Regions from separate parts of the Homo sapiens genome. Here region 2 is linked to region 1. Evidence: promoter capture Hi-C in human tissues and cell types (Jung and others, 2019). All regions are on one chromosome and are shown on one strand. The core of a region is centred on a gene start or on the middle of the fragment in contact, and the rest is flanking DNA. Distances in the headings are between cores, read along the strand shown.

Region 1 (3,034 bases), core at 315-2,814:
CCACTGCTCCGTATTTCTCTCAGCATTAGTATTACTATCACTTTACAGGACTGTTAAAATACAACCACAGAAAACTTTGAAAATAAAAGATAAGCAGAGCGCTGTAATTTTAACAATAAAAACTGATTTTTTTTTTAGTTTTATGTTTGACTTATAAGCCCTGATAGGTTTATTTTATGAATCAACAGGATAAACTATGAAAATGTAGCTTAAAATTTGAAAAATATCTAAACATGCCCAAAGTATAGCAACTTATATGTATCCCTTTTCCCAACCCAAAAATTTAGCAGGCTTCCCAGGTCGTCAGAGAGAGTAAGATCCTAAATAGCTTTTACAGTTCTCCACATTGAAACAGCTCACATCACACACCTCAGGATACCTGATGTTTCCAAATCACTTTGCAGTGATTCGGTTTGGCTACTCTGTAAACGCAATAACCACGTGCATGCTGAGTTAGAGAGATGTAGCTGAGTGACTCAACAGTGAAAGGCATTTACCTGACACGGGTCCCTAACAATGAAAAGCTCTGCCTAACTCGGCAGTTTTCCATCTAAGGGTAATTTCATCTGCACTCATAAAACATTCACTAAATCAAGCTACTACTTCACTTAACCTCCACATCCTAATACAGACTTCAGATTGGGGTGGGTGGGGAGCAGTGTGATCGGCTTGAAAGCGGGGCGGGAGGGGCGAGCAGATGTTAAAATCAAAAAGCAGTGAGTTCAAAAAGCTGAGAATGTAGAGGTGCCTGGGAAAGGCAAAAGTTAAGAGTTGAGAGTCCCACAACCTGGACGGGGACGAGAACACGTGGTGAGCCGGCACCCAAAGGGGGGGCAGGAGGGGGAAGGTCCGGAAGCAAGTACAGACTAGTCCATACCAACTGCCCAGTGCAAAACTGATGAGCCGGATCACAGACAGAGGAAAGTTAGATAGTCCCAAGATGGGGCTCTGTCAAAAACCAGAACTCTGATGAGCCAAGGCCCGGCAGAAGGAAGCCGCCCCAGGGGGACCAGGGGACTTGGCGAACATGGCTGCCCGTCAACAGTGGGGCCCAGGCCTCATTGGGCCAGCCGGCAGGGCTCGGATACGAGGCCGGCCGGGTCGAGCTGCGCCCTCCCTCACTGCCCTCGCGGCAGGCCGCACGCGGGGCTGGCGGCTTGGGCCCTGAACGCGCCGACGCCGCCTCCAAGCCTTCTGGCCCGGGCCGCTGAGAGCCACGCGCGATGCCGGACCACGCGCCACCCGGCCCGGAGGCCCGAAGCCGAGCCCGGGAAGGCGCCCGCCCCGCGCAGTCCCGCTCGCTTTACCTTGGCCTGCAGCCGCGCTGGCGCCCAGGCCAGACAGGTGCAGGTACCACTGAGGTGCGCGGAAGGCACGTACTCCTGGTGCAGCCGGTTGTTGGCCGTCTCCCATACTCGTAAGTGACCGTCGGTAGAGGCCAAAGCGAAGTAGGCCTGGCTGTGCGGGGAGAAGGCGCAAGGGACCCCAGCAGGGGCCAGGGGGTCGCAGCTACCGCCGCCGCCCGCCGCCATTGCTGCTCTGGCCCCGCTGCAGCCACGTGTTCGTCCGTGCGCAGGCGCACCGGCGCGGGGCGGAGCCTGGAGGAGGAAGTGAGGCGGAGGGAGCGCCGGGGGCTCAGGGAGTGGATCTTCGCGTCGCAGGAGAGCTTCTGGCGGATCCGCCCTGTGGACGGTGGCCCGCTAGGGCCTGTCGCTATCTTGTTCTGGGCGGGAGTGGGAGTATGGGAGAAAGTAATTGTAGAATTAAGATCAAGTCCTGTTCCTTTAAAAAAAAAAAAAAAGGGGGGGGGCCGGGCGCGGTGGCTCACGCCTGTAATCACAGCACTTTGGGAGGCCGAAGTGGGCGGATCCCCTGAGGTCGGAGTTCGAGACCAGCCTGACCAACATGTAGAAACCCCCGTCTCTACTAAAAATAAAAAAATTAGCCGTGGGCTGGGCGCGGTGGCTCACGCCTGTAATCCTAGCACTTTGGGAGGCCGAGGCGGGTGGATCATAAGGTCAGGAGTTCAAGACCAGCCTGGCCAAGATGATGAAACCTCGTCTCTACTAAAAATACAAAAAAATTAGCCGGGCTTGGTGGTTGGCACCTGTATGTAATCCCAGCCACTCGGGAGGCTGAGGCAGAGAATTGGTTGAACCCGGGAGGCGGAGATTGCAGTGAGCCGAGATCGCGCCCCTGCACTCCAGCCTGGGCGACAGAGCGAGACTCGTCTCAAAAAAAAAAAAAAAAAAAAAAAAAAAAAAAAAATAGCCAGGCGTGTGGCGCACGCCTGTAATCCCAGCTACTCGAGAGGCTGAGGCAGGAGAATCGCTTGAACTCGGGAGATGGAGGTTGCTGTGAGCCGAGATCGCGCCATTATACTCCGGGCAACAAGAGTGAAACTCCGTCTTAAAAAAATAAATAATAAATAAATAACAATTTTTTAAAACTTTAAAGAAAATGATAAGGTAGAACGAAAGGTTTGAAGGAAATCTTCAGCCGAGCGCGGTGGCTTACACCTATAATCCCACTTTGGGAGGCCGAGGCGGGCAGATCGCCCGAGGTCAGAGTTCGAGACCAAGCTAGGCAAAATGGCGAAACCTTGTCTCTACTAAAAATACTAAAATTAGCCGGGTGTGGTGGTGTGTGCCTGTAGTCCCAGCTACTCGGGAGACTGAGGCAGGAGACTCCTTGAACCCGGGAGGTGGAGGTTGCAGTGAGCCGAAATCGCCACGCCACTGCACTCCAGTCTAGGTGACAGAGCGAGACTGTCTCAAAAAAAAAGAGAGAGAAAAGAAGTCTTCACTTTCAAATTGATAATGATTGTAACAACTGCTTCCGTTTCCCCCTATTCAATTCCAGGCTGTAATCATTTACAAAATAACAATGTATTCAGTTATAATAATGTAAAAGTAATGATCGGAACAACTATTCCCTCCTGTTTCTCCAGATTTATCTCATGTTGCTACATCAAATAGACATTTTTAGGCACACGCCCATAGTCTGGAGGCTGAGGGAGGAGGATGGCTTGAGC
Region 2 (3,197 bases), core at 113-2,612, 50 kb after region 1:
GTCACCCAGGCTGGAGTGCAGTGGTGCAGTCTCAGCTCACTGCAACCTCCACCTCCCAGGTTCAAGCAATTCTCCTGCCTCAGTCTCTGGAGTAGCTGGAATTACAGGCATGCACCACCACCACGCCTGGCTAATTTTTCTATTTTTAGTAGAGATGGGGTTTCACCATGTTGGCCAGGCTGGTCTCGAGCTCCTGACCTCAAGTGATCTGCCCGCTTCAGCCTCCCAAAGTGCTGGGATTACAGGCGTGAGCCACCATGCCCAGCCAAGGGTCATGTATTGTTTTATCTGTTGACTTGGTTGTTCTAGAGGGAAATTTAGGTATACATAGTATATAGTTCTGCGATTGTGGGAGGCTTTCATTTTGAACTTCATATTTTCAGAGGCAGTGGGAACTTCTGAAGTTTCTATGGTCATGTAAAAGGTATTTTAAGTTAATCTGTTAGTGGTGTCTATGAGAATTTAACTGGAGGAAAAAACTGTTAAATCAGAGCTTTCATAGTAATACATATATAAGGTGATTAATCGTAGAAAATGAGCAGACAGGTCGGGCGCGGTGGCTCACGCCTGTAATCCCAGCACTTTGGGAGGCTGAGACAGGTGGATCACCTGAGGTCAGGAGTTCGAGACCAGCCTGACCAACATGGTGAAACCCTGTCTCTACTAAAAATACAAAAACTAGCTGGGCATGGTGGAGCATGCCTGTAATCCCAGCTACTGGGAAGGCTGAGGCACAAGAATTGCCTGAACCCAGGAGATGGAGGTTGCAGTGAGCTGAGATCGCACCATTGCACTCCAGCCTGGGCAACAAGCAAAACTCCATCTCAAACAAACAAAGAAAGAAACAAAATATTATGAAAGAACAACCAGATAAGCTGGTAATTCATTGGATGCAGAGAGAAAATTTATATATCGAGACTTTTTGACTTACAATGGAGTTATGTCCCAATAAACTCTTGTAACTTGAAGATATCATTAAGTCAAAATGCATTTGGGCCAGGTGCAGTGATTTACATCTGTAACCCCACCACTTTGGGAGGCCAAGGTGGGAGGATTGCTTGAGGTCAGGAGTCCGAGACCAGCACCAGTCTGGGCAACATAGGAAGTCTCTACAAAAAAAAAAAGAAAAAAAAAAAAAAAGCTGGGCATGGTGGCACGTGCCTGTAGTGCCAGCTACTCAGGAGGCTGAGGTGGGAGGATCACTTGAACAGAGGAGGTTGAGGCTACAGTGAGCTGTGATCACATCACTACACTCCAGCCCAGGTGACAGAGCAAGATCCTGGCTGGTGGGGGAAAAAAGCATTTGGCTGGGCACAGTAGCTCACTCTTGTAATCCCAGCACTTTGGCAGACAGAGGTGGAGGATTGCTTAAGGCCAGGAGTTCATGACCAGCCTGGGCAATGTGAGACCCCATCTCTATTTTTAAAAAATGTTTTTATTTTATTTTTTTCTTTTTTGAGATGGAGTCTCACTCTGTTGCCCAGGCTGGAGTACAGGGGCATGATTTTGGCTCACTGCAACCTCCGCCTCCCGGGTTCAAGCAATTCTCCTGTCTCAGCCTCCCGAGTAGCTGGGACTACAGGCACCCGCACCATGCCCAGCTAAATTTTGTATTTTCAGTAGAGATGGGGTTTCACCATATTGGTCAGGCTGATCTCGAACTCCTGACCTCAGGTGATCCACCCGCCTCGGCCTCCCAAAGTGTTGGGATTACAGATGTGAGCCACCGCGCCCAGCAAAAAATATTTTTAAAAAGATGCGTTTAATACAGCTAACCACCGAACATCACAGCTTAGCCTAGCCTACCTTAGTGTGCTCAGAACGCTTACATTAGGCTACAGGTGGGCAACATCATCTGGCAATGCGGTACACTGTCGAAAATCAGTTGTTTACTCTCATGATTTCATGGCTGCCTGGAAGCTGCAGCTCACTGCCTCTGCCCAGCATCAAGAGAGACCATGATACAGCTTTCCACTGAATGTGTATAGCAACCATAGGTAAGTCAAGGACCAGCTGTATTTTCAAACTTCTGTCTGCTATTCAGAAGGCCCTTCCCTTAATTCTCTGGGCAAAACAGGACTCAGTCAATGCCCAGCTAATATCTTACTTTGAAAAACCTTCACCAAACCTCTCACCCCACAGAATTAATTCTGAAATCTTTTGTGCTCCTCAATGTTGATCATATACTTAGCACAGCCCTTATCACATTATTAACTTATATGCCCTAATTATACCTTCATTAAGTGTAAGAATTTTAAACCTGGGTGACTAGAACAGTGGTAATGACAAAAATAAGTAAGAAAATTCAAAGAAGGATTTATTTCTGAGGAAAAATTACTTGGTTTTAGATTATTTAACAGTTGTAATGTTACATGCCTCCCTATATGATCCAGGGCTAAAGCTTGGCATATTTTTTTTTCCCTTGGCTTCACTCTAAAATCTCATGGGTCCTCAGATAATACATAATATATATCTATGTTTCACATGGACCAGCCCAGGCGTCATAAAGCTTACAACAGCATACAGTAAGGAGAAACAATAGTAGTTTAGTTATTATAAAAATATGTTATATATTCAGATAGAACTGGGTTCCCATCTTGTTTCTGTTATTGTTTTACCTGGTAATGGTGTGACTTTTCTGAGTTTGTTTTTTCATCAGTAAAATGAATATAATAATGCCACTTCAAGATTTCTTAGGGGGTTGGATGTTAAATGAGATTAAGTATCTAGCGTGTGATTGGTGATTGTGATGTATATAAATATGTAAAGAATGCTTCATCTAAAAAAAAAAGAATGCTTCATCTATCTTTCCCAAAAGTCAATTTTTTTTTTTTTTTTTGAGACGAAGTTTTGCTCTTTTTGCACAGGCTGGAGTGCAGTGGCACCATCTCAGCTCACTGCAACCTCCACCTCCCAGGTTCAAGCGATTCTCCTGCCTCAGCCTCCTGAGTAGCTGGGATTACAGGCATGTACCACCACACCCAGCTAATTTTTGTATTTTTAATAGAGACAGGGTTTTACCATGTTGGCCAGGCTGGTCTGGAACTCCTGACCTCAGGTGATCCGCCCCCTCTTGGCCTCCCAAAGTGCTGGGATTACAGGCACAAGCCACCGTGCCCGGCCCCAAAAGTCAAATTTTTGACAGTATTTTTACCCCACCTTGTCAAATTGAAAAATATTTTGTTCTTAATAAATGT

Evidence for each region. Contacts are between HindIII fragments. The study calls those that stand out against the background at their distance.
Region 2: a contact is called between a fragment that was not itself captured here and the fragment with the promoter of WDR43 in region 1, in 1 of the 25 tissues and cell types used here (adrenal gland).

What each region holds. Positions count from the first base shown.
Region 1 is chr2:28,893,197-28,896,230 of GRCh38, reverse strand. It overlaps WDR43 (WD repeat domain 43), which reads right to left and starts at 1,564. Exons shown (of 18, transcript NM_015131.3): 1 at 1,308-1,564. The coding sequence starts at 1,532. RefSeq lists enhancers at 175-796, 871-970, 797-1,420 and silencers at 1,071-1,190, 1,211-1,260, 1,301-1,360, 1,501-1,580. The HindIII fragment of the contact is 10,077 bases long and covers 1-3,034 here.
Region 2 is chr2:28,843,193-28,846,389 of GRCh38, reverse strand. The region is part of intron 7 of SPDYA (speedy/RINGO cell cycle regulator family member A); the gene reads right to left. Among named protein-coding and RNA genes, the nearest start is that of TRMT61B, 26 kb to the left of the region's middle. The HindIII fragment of the contact is 7,965 bases long and covers 1-3,197 here.